2 separate regions of the Homo sapiens genome follow, and region 2 is linked to region 1. Evidence: promoter capture Hi-C in 16 types of primary human blood cells and fetal thymus (Javierre and others, 2016). All regions are on one chromosome and are shown on one strand. The core of a region is centred on a gene start or on the middle of the fragment in contact, and the rest is flanking DNA. Distances in the headings are between cores, read along the strand shown.

What was found. Contacts are between HindIII fragments. The CHiCAGO score rates a contact against its expected background, and 5 or more counts as called.
Region 2: a fragment that was not itself captured here is called in contact with the fragment with the promoter of SPATA20 in region 1 in 1 of 17 cell types (endothelial precursors); the score reaches 5.6 in endothelial precursors.

The regions. Positions count from the first base shown.
Region 1 is chr17:50,541,886-50,548,423 of GRCh38, forward strand. SPATA20 (spermatogenesis associated 20) reads left to right here and starts at 5,289. Exons shown (of 17, transcript NM_022827.4): 1 at 5,289-5,400; 2 at 5,835-5,882; 3 at 6,398-6,538. The coding sequence starts at 5,324. EPN3 (epsin 3) reads left to right here. Exons shown (of 10, transcript NM_017957.3): 10 at 1-1,865. The coding sequence ends at 272. RefSeq lists silencers at 1-434, 5,299-5,568 and an enhancer at 1,171-1,671. The HindIII fragment of the contact is 19,639 bases long and covers 1-6,538 here.
Region 2 is chr17:50,587,316-50,593,853 of GRCh38, forward strand. CACNA1G (calcium voltage-gated channel subunit alpha1 G) reads left to right here. Exons shown (of 38, transcript NM_018896.5): 10 at 3,156-3,307; 11 at 4,120-4,305; 12 at 4,424-4,538; 13 at 4,622-4,777. Among named protein-coding and RNA genes, the nearest start is that of CACNA1G-AS1, 28 kb to the left of the region's middle. RefSeq lists an enhancer at 5,579-6,387. The HindIII fragment of the contact is 1,953 bases long and covers 3,050-5,002 here.

The DNA of each region.
Region 1 (6,538 bases), core at 4,039-6,538:
AGCCGGGCAGGCCGACGCTAAACCAGATGCGCACCGGCTCGCCGGCGCTGGGCCTGGCAGGCGGGCCTGTGGGGGCGCCCCTGGGCTCCATGACCTACAGCGCCTCTCTGCCCCTCCCGCTCAGCAGCGTGCCAGCTGGCTTGACCCTCCCCGCCTCGGTTAGCGTCTTCCCGCAGGCCGGAGCCTTCGCACCGCAGCCGCTGCTGCCCACGCCGAGCTCAGCCGGGCCGCGGCCCCCGCCCCCGCAGACCGGCACCAACCCCTTCCTCTGAGCCCCGCCCCGTCCCATACCGGCCTGCGCCTGCGCCGGACGCTCCGCGGCCCCGCCTCCGGACCCGGGGCTGGGCGGGGCGCCGGTGCTAGTGGAACGCCGAGCCAGTGGCGGCTGGTATCCCGCGGCGGCTCTGGAAGCTGGACGCGGACCACGGCCCGGGAGCTAGAAACTGAACGCCCGCATAATAAAGACTGGAACCCTCGTTCTCAGCTCTCACCAAGTGGACTTTTTGCGGGGTGTGGCGGCCGGGTCTCGACCACAGCGTGGATCACCGGCTGTTTAGGAAACTGCAGCTGCACAACGTGGGGTGCAAAACTGCCCCGCTTCCTTTACAGCTCTTCTCAACCCTCACCTCCATCCCCCGTCACCCAGGCACCTTCGCTTCCAGATGCTGCCAGGCTGTCACTCAATTCGGTCATTTCATTCATTTATCACACATGGGCACTGGGGTTGGGCTAACAGCAAGAGACAATAGGCCTTTGTTCCTATTTATTGGGTACTGCTTACGTGCTAAGCAGATCAGTTTATTTAATGCTTGCAACGACTCTCTGAGGTAGAAAATATTGTTAATTCCGTTCAGGATCCCGGCTACATAATCTGTGGGGCTCAATACAAAATAAAAATGTAGGGGCTCCTTGTTCAAAATCGTATGAAGAATTTCAAAACAGGGACAACAGAGCATGAAACCAAGCGCAAAGCCCACTGCAGTGCGATTGCACAGGTATCTCACCTTGCAGCCGGCACTACTCCCATTTTTCAGGCAAGGAAACCGTGGCTCAGAGAGGTTGAATGGCATGCTCAAAGTCACAAAGCTGGCATGGGGCGGGGCTGGAACTCAAGAGTCAGACAGTCTGGCTCCAAGGCCTGGAGATCCCAGGCTGGGCCCCAGATTTAATTCAGCAAATATTGACTGACTGCTGTGGACAAAGTGCTGGGCTCACCTTGGAGGGATCCAACCTCCAGGAGCTCGAGCGCAGCAGGGTAGACAAGCCAGGGGCACGTGATGCGGCTGTGGCAGAAGCCAAGTGCAGGAGCTCCCAGGCTCCTTTGTTTTACTGAGTCACCTTAAATGTAACTCTGCCCTCTCCCTTGCTTCGCCAAGGCTAGCGAGAAACTCAGTCTTAGCCACACAGGAGGAATCGGACCCCTTCTGGGGGTTTATGTGGAGTCTGGGAAACCAAGGGTGGGGTGAGGCCTGGTACTCAATCCAGGAGGGGCCCCTATGACCACCCTCGCCTGTTTTTCTTCTCAATGCTCCCTGATCACTGGACCACTGGACACTGATGTGTCCTCAGTGCTTGGGGTCTGGCTCTGCAGGCAGCCTGCAGCCAGCCTCCATCCCCCTTTCAGGGACAAATGGCCTTCCACCAGAGTCGGTGAGTGGAGAGGCACAATGCCACTCCCCTTCCTGAGGTGGGGGTAGGGGAAGGGAGTCCCACAATGCAGTTACAAACAGGATGGACAAGAACACCTGCTCAGGAGTCAGACTTACAGGGTTCAAAGTTCTGCTCCAAGGTTTGACCCTAACAAGAATCACTTAGTAATAAGTGGTTATGCTCTGTGACCTTGAGTAAATTACTTACCCTCTCCATGTCTCTGTGCCTGCGTTTCCTTACTTGTCAAACGGGATCAGAAGTTTCTTCCTTGTGAGGTTACTATGTGGATGTCCCCAGGCGTGTCCATTCAGCTCAGAGTCCACCCTCTTCAAAGACTGACCATGAGGCACGAACCCATCATGGCTTTCACTCCTGGTTTTGCCAGGCAATACCCAGAGTCCAGCACCCATCTATTAATATCTTCTGCTGCACCCAAACCTGGGATGTTCCATCCTTCTTGGCCCCTGATCCACCCTTTGTGGCCCTGCCACCCAGGCTCTCTTCTTCTAAACTGGATCCCCCCGAGGACTCCCAAGGGGAGCTGTTTTGTTTCCCACAAAAAAAGTTGGCAGCCTTGCTTCCTGCCTCCCTCCTTATAAGACCCCTCCTGCTAGGAGGTTGGTGCCATAAGTCATTCTGTCTCTTCCCTGCCTGGGGCTGCCACTCCACCTCACTTTTGGGATGCTTCGGTCTTGGCTCATGGTCTTCTCATCCAGCTCTTACCTCAATTTCAAGTCGCTCCATTATCCAAGGACCTTATGGCCCCTTGACCTCTCAATGACCCTCACCATGGTCACACTTGGAGGTTTGTCATCACCCCAGATTCCTCTACATTCAAGGCAGGCTTCTGGCTCTCTGAGCTTAACCTCATTCCTTCTAGCCAGAACATGTTCTTTGGAGCACCCACTGGACCCTCCGGCTAGCCAACCCTTCCAACAACCCGCCACACCCCACATTCTCAGAGTCACCCAGGACCACCATCTCTTCTATCCTTGATGGCGTCCACCACTTTCTCTCAAACGAATCCTTCCCATCGAAATGTGTCTTAATTAGCTCCATCCATCTTGACAGTGTCTTCCCATCTATCCTCTCATGTCAAGCACCCATCATCTCTCTCTGTCTCCCCTCCCTTTCCTCTTCCTCCTCAGCCGACTCGGCAACTTCTGCTCTCAGCCTGACTTCACTAGAACGACGCCCACTAAGCACACCAATGGCCTCCATGTTGCTGAAGCCAGTGGACATTTTTCTGTCCCAGCCAGGCTGGCCCCTCAGGAGTCTGACATGTAGGCACTCTGTCCTTCATCTCTGGGGTGCTGTCCTTTGCACCCTGGCTGCTTCCCTTCTGTGTCTTTCTTTCTTTCTTTCTTTCTTCTTTTTTTGAGACAGAGTTTCGCTCTTGTTGCCCAGGCTGGGGTGCAATCATGAAATCTCGGCTCACCGCAACCTCCGCCTCCCGGGTTCAAGCGATTCTCCTGCCTCAGCCTCCCGAGTAGCAAGGATTACAGGCATGCGCCACCATGCCCGGCTAATTTTGTATTTTTAGTAGAGATGGGGGTTTCTCCATGTTGGTCAGGTTGGTCTAAAACTCCTGACCTCAGGTGATCCACCCTCCTCGGCCTCCCAAAGTGCTGGGATTACAGGCGTGAGCCACCATGCCCTGCCTCCATCTGTGTCTTTCACAGGCTTACTTAAGCCTGGACCTGAGCCCTCTTCTCTGCTCCTCTGCATGGTCTCCCTGGATCAGCTCCACACCCACATGGTCTCAACAGTCAAGACCCCCAATCCTCTCTCCTGAAGCCTCTCCTCTGTCCTCCAAGCAGTGTCATCTCTGCCTCCATGTGCACATCTCAAACCCACAGGTCCCACAATGAACCCCATGAGTTGTCCCCCCACCCCCACCCCATGCCCTCTCTTGAGGGAACGGCCCCACCTTGCAAGTCACCCTGGACACCGCCTTCTTTGTCGCCGCCCATCCTGACGACGTTTCCTCCTTGACCGACTTCCAGCCCATCCCTTTCTCTGCATCTCTGCTCCCCCATCTCCCCCTGGGTGCTGCTATAGCCTCCTATCTGCCCCTGCTTTCACTCTTGCCCCTTTCCAGTTCATTCTCCACTGGGAAGCTGGTGGGATCTTTCCAAAACGCAGATCTAACTGGTAACCCTCCTGACTAAAGCCTTTCAATAGCTTGCTTCTACTGTCATCAAAAATCCCCTTCTCTGGCCAGGCACGGTGGCTCACACCTGTAATCCCAGCACTTCGGAGGCTGAGGCAGATGGATCGCTTGAGGTCAGGAGTTTGAGACCAGCCTAGGCAACATGGCGAAACCCCGTCTCTACTAAAAATACAAAAATTAGCTGGGCATGGTGGCGCGCTCCTGTAGTCCCAGCTACTTGGAAGGCTGAGGCACAAGAATCGCTTAAACCTAGGAGGTGGAGGTTGCAGAGAGCCAAGATCCACTGCACTCCAGCCTGGGCAACAGAGTGAGACTCTGGCTAAAAAAAAATGGGGTCGGGTATGGTGGCTCATGCCTGTAATCCCAGCACTTTGGGAGGCCAAGGCAGATGGATCACCTGAGGTCAGGAGTTCGAGACCAGCCTTGAACCCAGGATGCGGAGGTTGCAGTGAGCCGAGATCACACCACTGCACTCCAGCCTGGGTGACAGAGCGAGACTCTGTCTCAAAAAATAAAAATCCCCTTCTTACAGTTCACGAGTGTCTCCAAGATCTTGCCTCTGCCCTCATCTACTGCCTGTCTTCCCTCTTTCTGCAGTTGCTCAGCCCGGACTCACTGACAAGCCACGGGACCTTTGCACAAACTGTACCTCTGCCTCCTTCCCCAGCACTCCCCCTGAGCACCCTCCAAGTTCCTTTCTCTCGTTCTCCATGGCTTCACAAATGTGATTTCCTCAGGGAAGCCTTCATCCTTTGCCCCTTCCACCAGATCAGGTCACTTGTTACGTTATACCCTCACGGACTTGTCACGTGGGTGTTTATCGGTATGGCTGTCGAATTAGCATCTGCCGCTCTCAACAGACTGTGAGCCATGTGAGGGCAGGAGCCTTGTTTCTCTCTGCCCACCATTGTATACTCAGTGCCTTGCAGAGTGGCAGGCGGCAGGCACTTAATAAATATTGGCTGAATGTAGCCAATGAGGCCATGTGTAACCTATGAGACATAAAATGGGCTCATCAGTATTATTTAAGGAAGACTTCCTGGAGTGGGTAGGATTTGAGTAGGACCTAGAGACGAGGAGGCTGCAAAAAGCAAACCTTGTTAGCTGGTGGACCTGGCCAAGGTACGCCTTCGCCTTGGATCTCATTTCTCATTTGTAAAATGGGCAGGGGTTGGACAAAATGAGCTGAAGCTCTGGCATCCCATGTCCCTAGCATCTCCCAGCCCTAGATCCCACAACTCTCCCTATTCCCTTGAGAAGGGCTGTCCTCCCCAGGCAGGGGCAGAGCCCAGTTTTATGCACAGAATGGGTCCTCCCAAGGCTCGGGTGCCTGATCTGCAATTCTGCGCTCCGCCGCAGGGCGACGCTCGGAGACCAGCCACACTGTCCCAAGTCCCGGCGAAGACCCGCCCGCGGCTCCGTAGGTGCCCGGCCCGCCCCTCGCAGCCTCCTGACTTCCCTTCCTGTCCTCAGCGGCCGGGCCCACGGCCCCGAGCAGCCATGCTGGGCGCGCGGGCCTGGTTGGGCCGCGTCCTTCTGCTGCCCCGCGCCGGTGCAGGCCTCGCCGCGAGCCGCAGGTACGGGCGGGCGAGCGGGCCCCTAGGGCACTCCCTGCGCCTGCCTGCGGGCCCAGTGGAGGGTCTTCCGGACACCGGTCCCCAGTGCCAGTCTGGACCACCCCTGCATGCCTGGCCCTTCCCCCACCCCACCTCCGGTCTGCTCCTGAGACCTGGCTCTGGCTGTAAGGCCCTCCTCCCCTCCTCTCCCGTCCTCATCCCTTCCCTCCTCTCCCCTTCCTTCCAGTGCAGTGCCAGCTCCTCAGGGACTGTTCTGACACTGCTTCCAGGAAGCCTTCCTTGCACCCCAGTGCTGGATGCTGGGTCAAGGGCCTTTCTCCAATAGTACCCTGTGCCCTGTCACAGTCCTTTATTGCTGCATGGACCTTTCGTTATTTAGGTCTGCCTGCAGTCCCACTTCCAGGCTGAACTCCCTGAGGTCTCTGATTCCCTAGGTGTCCTGGAGTCTGGCCCAGGACCTGGCCCCACAGGAGTCCCAGCAGGTGGGCGCTGAGTGAGGGAGTCCCCATGTCTGGTTTCCTCTGTTTGTCCCTCACCTGGTCGAGTCCCAGACCCTACTGATCTTGGCCTGTCCAGCCACCAACAGTAGGCTGCCTTCCAGTGGGGCCACACCCAGGCCTGCCAGAGAGATGCCTCCAAGCAGCTGCTCCAGGAAGGGCCGGGGGAGGGGCCTGGGGAGGGGTAAGAATGGAGCCCCAAGAACCATTCTGCCCATTGTGACCCGCCCTGACCTCACAGCCATCCTTCCCACCGCCAGGCCCAGGAGGTTGGGGGAGACTAACCTGGCAAGGAGCCCCCAATGAGCCACCTCTCCTCACCCCCCAAAAAACATAAGGGGGAGCACAAAGGCCACAGTCTCCCCCATGGTTCAGAAAGGTGGGTTGGGCTGGGAGCAGGGGTCCTACTGGGGTGCTGAGTGAAATGGAGCAGGTGCTGGGGGGCCTGGGAGAAGGTGGGTGGAGGCCCCTGGCTTGCCTGATGCACCAGTCCTCGCCAGGGGTAGCTCCTCCCGGGACAAGGACCGAAGTGCGACGGTCAGTAGTTCAGTGCCCATGCCTGCTGGAGGGAAAGGAAGCCATCCTTCATCTACACCCCAGAGGGTCCCCAACCGCCTGATCCACGAGAAGTCACCATACCT
Region 2 (6,538 bases), core at 2,776-5,275, 44 kb after region 1:
CTCCCTCGTTTGTTGTGAGCAGGGAGGAAATGAAATCCCACGAGGAGGTCTTCAGCCTAGTTGGCCTGTGGTGGGCACTGCCAGATGTTGGCTCCACCCCTGCCCCTTTTCAGCCGTAATTACAGCTCTGGTCCCTGGGGCAACTTTGTTGCTAAGATTGTGTCTCTATGTCCTCGTCCTGCATTCGCAGATCGTTCCCAGCCTCCAATTTAGTAACTTGGACAGACCTGGCTATCTGGGGGAGGAGGGCTCTTTTTCCATGGCTCACTGGAGGGAATACCGGGGCCCTGGAGAAGAAGTGGCATTTACCCTAAGTGTTGCAGGGAGACTAGAGAGAGCAAGGCAGGGCCGAGGGAGTGCGCCAGGCCCCTTTCCACCTGCATCAGGCTGCCCTGCTTTTCCAGGCCTGGAGTCACTTGGCTGGGCAAAACAGGGGTTCCAGCCTTTGCTGGCACAGCCCTTGACAAAGTTCAATGAGGCAAGCCTTATGGGACGGCAGGCTTCTCAGGAGCCTGGCATCATCCTTCTCCATAAGCCTCTCGGTGGTGTGCAGGAGAGTGAGGTGTGCACGTGTCCACAAGCCATCAGTACAGACTCCTGAGAGCCCCGTGGATAACATCGGGGAGTGAAGAGAACAGTCTCCTTCTCCACGCACAGTAGTAGTCGGACTTTTAGAATTCACTGATTGAGTAAATACATGACATCAAAAGCTACTGTGTTTTCAGCAACTTTTAAAAGAACGTTTCATTAATTTTTATTTTTAGCAGCTTTTTGGGGGTATAGTTTATATGCCATGAAATTTGCCCATTATAAGCGTACCTCAGCTGTGTCTTCACATCGAGTTGGTCTTTATTCCTAGAACTCTGTTGATTTGAATATAATTTTAGAAGACACGTTGTGTATCCAGTCCACCGTGTATCTGGATTCACAAGCCCCTCACCATCACCGTGGCTTGGTTCTGAATCCTGACTGTCTAATATTCTTGGAGTCAGAGGGATGTGGGATTGGGCCCCACCCCAGCTCTTCCTGCCCTGTGACTTTGAACATCATACCTGTGCGGTCCATGTTCATTTTAATCTAATCCAAGGCCCGAAAACACGGCGAGTGGCAGAGTGACAGGGAGGAGGGTTTGCCGACTCCCGCTCCCTGGCAGACCGGACTTGGAAGTACAGAGTGGGGGGATCCACTTAGCCAGGTGGGGTCTGAGCCCAGGGCTTTATATGCATTGATCCTGGCCCCGCCCCACCTCCTGTACTGTGCTCACGCCGGAGACACTAATGGCCCTGTGTGACCGGGCTAACCAGGTCAGGTGGCAGTGCCCCCACTCACAATCCACGGAGCTACGACTTACTTGAGATCTGCTGGAGCAACGGGCTCCATGCCATACTGGCCCCCACGACAGCCACTCCCCCTCTGCATAGCTGGCTGTCTGCCTGCCTGCTGGCCCTGACTCTGCCCCCAGGCCTGCCTTTGAACAGTCTGAAAGTTTATCTCTCTCTGAGTAACTGTTGTCCCCGAGGCTCCCAAATGCCGCTCACCTGCTAGTCAGAAGCCCCTTGTTCCGAGTCTTTTCACCTCCCATCCAAGCTGGCTGCACAAACTAGGGCCATTAGGATACATTTGGGTGTCCTCAGGCCTGGCTGCAGGCTTGGTTGGGCAGCTGGCCAGCGAGACAGTGAGAAGCAAGGAGAGGTGTCTGATGGAATGAGTGCCTCATTTGAATGTTTCATTAACCCATACTTTTTGAGCAGCTACTATGGACTTGGCCTCTGCCCTCCAGGCCAGACACCTAGTTTGTCCAGACATCCATCAGGTGGACAGTGGGGTCCATTGAGCCAACCATATCTCTTCTTGCTTCCCCAGCCCTCTGCCTGGCCACACCCCTCCCTTCTTCAACCAGAACCAGGCTGAGGTTGCTCATGATCCCCCCACCCCGTGCCACACCACCTAGACCCTTGGCTGGGGAGACTCCACAAACCCTTAGGCATTCAAGTGCTGCCTCTCTCCCAACTAAGCCTTTCTCTGTGTGTTCACCCCTCACCTTTTCTCCCCTGAACTCCCGGACTTGCTGCCTGGATAATTTATTTTGGCACTGAAGCATTTAAGGCCTCTTGTGGTTATTCAGCCGTTTTGTGTGTGTACAACGTGTTTCTAGCAGACACTGAGCTCCTGGGAGGCGGGGCGTGTGGCTGGCATGTTTTTGCAGCTCCTTTAATGCCTGGTGCATTGCTAGGCACTTCATATTGAAAGCGAGGTCACTAGTGAGCTGGAATGGCAGATGAGACAGGGTTCGTCATTCGTCCTTCTGAGGACTCTAGGGTGCATCCTCAGTCCCAGTCCCAGACTCGGGTAGGGAGCATGAAAGGAATTACCTCTGGTGTTTCACATTTGGCCAGAGAGGTTGAGAATCTTGCTGAAGGTCACAGAGTGAGTGACAGGATAGGCTGAGGATTAACCCGGGTGTCCCGGGCTCAGGCTGAGGCTCCAGGTGTCTCCTCAACTGTGACAACCCTTCCTGGGTGTCTGCGTGTCTTCCTTCTGCCTATCACCATGTGTGTGACTGGGAATGCGTGCATTTTTCTCTCTCTCTCTCTCTCTGTGTGTGTGTGTGTGTGTGTGTGTGTGTGTGTGTGTCTGGAAGGAAGCAAGAGTAGCCAACTGTTGTCCAAGAGAAAGCTGCCAAGTCCACAGAGTAATTGTGGAATACATGTGACGTTGTGTGGGGCTTGACGACCGGGTGTGCCTGTGAGGCCTTGGCGATCGCCCTCTGACATCCGCCAGCATTGTCATGCTGCTGGCCTGGGCCCGCTAGGCTTGCATTGTAGCCTAGGTCAAGATGGGCCATGCAGCTCCCAGCAGGAGATAGGGCGGAACCCACACCACAGGCCTCCCATTGAGTTTGTGGCCCCTGAATCTGAGACCCAGAGCTGGGGCTATGGGTTTCACGTGGCCCTTTCCTGGGGCCCCTGCCCCTGGGTGCATTTCCTCCTGGAGCCTTTGGGGCAGGGTCCTCCCCATGGGCCTGAGCATCCAGCAACCCCTCCGCACAAGCTTGCTATTCCTGCTCCTCCTCTCCCTGGTGTCCCATGTTTGGAGGACTGGATCGAGGGGCTCAGTGATAAGCCAGCTGCCTCACATCCCACCCTGCCCTGCAGCCCGAGGAGCTTACCAACGCCCTAGAAATCAGCAACATCGTCTTCACCAGCCTCTTTGCCCTGGAGATGCTGCTGAAGCTGCTTGTGTATGGTCCCTTTGGCTACATCAAGAATCCCTACAACATCTTCGATGGTGTCATTGTGGTCATCAGGTATGACTACCCCCCGGCACTGACTCTCAGTTGAGGAATGGTAGCAGGGGTGGCTTGGGGCCAGGGGCCATGCCACCTATTCCCCTGGGGTGGAGGGGTCTGGAGTCAGGCCCCACTGACCCCACAGGACCTGCCACTCCTCCTAGGTGGGGGGCTCTCTGTGTCCCCATGCCCCCTCCATCTCTCTCTTGGCCCCACCTTGCTCCTGTTGACCTTGGGCTCACCTCTTCATTGCCCAGGCCCCTCTTTAGTCTCCTCTCTCCACTTCTACCTCTTGTCCTTGACCCCACCCAGGCCTGGGATGGGCGAGGGTGAGATTGGCTTTAGAGGAGTTGGAAGAGGTATGAGGCCCAGCCAGCTGCCCGGCTCGAAAAGTGCTTGGAAATCATCTCAGACACCAGCAACTTGCTTTAGGGTTTCCAAGACCTTGGGAAAGTGCTCCGTCCCCGCAAGGCCTGGGGCCAGGAGAACCACTTTATTGCTTTTGGAATTGGCTTTAGATTTCATTAGAAGAGAACAAAGCAAATATTCCATAACTTGATGCAGTTGCATTGGCCAGATTTAGGGAGGGAGTTGTCTACTGCCAGGATGTGATCTCTGGCAGGGAGGAGAGGGCGGAGGGGGCCGGGGCTGTCACCCAAATCCTCACTATCTTGGAGGCTCCTGCTTAGAGGTCTGGGGGCCCACCTGTGCCCCATTTTCTCTCGACGTGCCCACCCAGCCAGGCCCTTGGGTGCTACTGAGTCCTCTCCGAGGGAGTAGGGGGAGAGGGTGAAGGTGCAGGGGGCTCAGGCTGCCTGCCCCCTTTGCAGCGTGTGGGAGATCGTGGGCCAGCAGGGGGGCGGCCTGTCGGTGCTGCGGACCTTCCGCCTGATGCGTGTGCTGAAGCTGGTGCGCTTCCTGCCGGCGCTGCAGCGGCAGCTGGTGGTGCTCATGAAGACCATGGACAACGTGGCCACCTTCTGCATGCTGCTTATGCTCTTCATCTTCATCTTCAGGTGAGGGCGGCATGGCACCTTGCCGGCTGAGAGACCGGCCAGGCTGGGGGCAGGAGGGCCTGAGGGGTGAGGAGCACTGGGCTCTGATCCCTAGCTTGTGGCCCCCTTGTGCCCACAGCATCCTGGGCATGCATCTCTTCGGCTGCAAGTTTGCCTCTGAGCGGGATGGGGACACCCTGCCAGACCGGAAGAATTTTGACTCCTTGCTCTGGGCCATCGTCACTGTCTTTCAGGTGCGAGGGTAACAGGGCAGGGCGTGGACAGGGGCCGTCAGGTGCCCCTAGTATAGGCCCTGATTCCTGTCTTCTGCCCGCAGATCCTGACCCAGGAGGACTGGAACAAAGTCCTCTACAATGGTATGGCCTCCACGTCGTCCTGGGCGGCCCTTTATTTCATTGCCCTCATGACCTTCGGCAACTACGTGCTCTTCAATTTGCTGGTCGCCATTCTGGTGGAGGGCTTCCAGGCGGAGGTAACCCACTGCTCTGCCCACCTCACCCTGCCCACAGCAGTCCCACTTCCAATTGGCTGCCTGTCTTGAGCCTCCTCCCTCTGTTGCCAACTTTGGGGGCCTGGGAAGTCCCACAGGAAGAGCCTCTTAGACTAAGCCGGGGTGGACCAGGGCGGGAGGCTCCAGATCTCGTGCAGCCCCTCATCACATGGGACACAGGGTGGTTGTTTGGGGTCCCTCCACCAAAGCTTAGCTACCGAGTAGACATCCCCTTCAGAGTTGGCTAGACCCCTTCCCCAGAGAGGCAGACCAGATAAGTGTCTGCCTGTGGTGCAGCTGGACTCCTGAGCACAGTGCTCTATGGAACACCCGGAGAGGACCCCTCTGAGCCGAGGGGTGCAGGAGGCTTGTGTGCAAGTTATCTGAGCTCTGACTGAGCAGATGAAGATGCCACTAAGACCAGAGCAGGGCTGAGCTGCCCAGGGTGAGAAATGAGCCCAATTAGCTACGGGCATGGCAGAGATGAGCGTCCTATTTCCAGCCCAGGCTCCATCACCTTCGTCACAGGCAGCGTCATCAATTAATATTGATTTACATTGATCCTGCCCTTGCCATGTCAGCGAGCAGCCTCTGCCCAGAGGGCTGCACCCCCTCCTCTCCCTCAGCTCTGCCTCTCTTCCCACCCGAGCCCCCAGACCCACCCCAGCTTGCTGGGGCTTCAAACAGGGCAGTTTGACCCAACCTAGAAACGCTCCAGGTTGGGTCTGGAGAAGCTCTTGGTCCAGTTCTCTCTGGGTGACCCGGATGGAAACTCCCGCTGCGGCCTGGTCTATAAATACCTGGCACACGGTGGAAAAACAAAAATCTATTTTCCGACTCTTTCCCAGTCTTTCAAGGGAGGGCTTTTCCCTGTGGGCCGGCTGGGTTGGTGGGGTGCAGCGTATCTGTCCCACACTGGTCTTTCTCCCCGCTACCCTTTTCAGTCTGTAGTTATCCGTTATCGCATTTCCTCCCTCCTGTGGGGCAGCCAGGGCAGCTGGTGGGGGAGGCTTTGGTGATGGCTGTGCCTCTTGCAGGGAAGGAGGGAGGGACGCCGGTATGCTCCCTGGAATGGGACACTAATTTGGGGGTTCCCTGAGGCCTGAAGAATTAAGGGGCACCACAGTACTCCCACAAGAGCCAGTAGACTCACTCTGCTGCTGCTCAGGGTCTATAAGAGGAGGAGCTGAGTGAGGACCGGGCCCCCTGGCCCCTTCTGAAGGCAGCTCCTGCCAGCCACGGTTCCCTCAGAAAAATTCCCGTGCAACTCTGTGGAGGGAAATGGAAAACACCGCGGGCCTATTCCCCTCCCCTCCTCTGCCACTCAGCCGCCAAGGCAGTCTGGAGGTGCCCAGCACAGATGGCCCCCTCCCCAGCACTCAGCCCTTTCAGCAAACACCTTGTTAACTTGAGTGCAGCTGAGCGGCCTGGTTGCTAGGCAACAGCAAAGCCAGAGTGTGGGAATGAGCGCAGCCTGGCCCTGGGGCGGCCTGGTCACTCTGGCCCTGCTGGGGGCCTGGGACTGCCCCAGTGTGAGGGCTCAACAAGGCCCACGCAGCCACACCCTCCCCAACCTTCGCAGTATCAGGACCTTTGCAGGGAGGGTCTCACTCAGGATGCGGTGTCTTGGGCTGGGATGCTTCAGGCCTGGGGTGGGATGGAGAAAGGACTTTAAGAACATCCCCTCTCCATGGGAGTGGGCAGTGACTGTGGCCCCGGAGTGCCCATGGGAGGGGCTGGGCC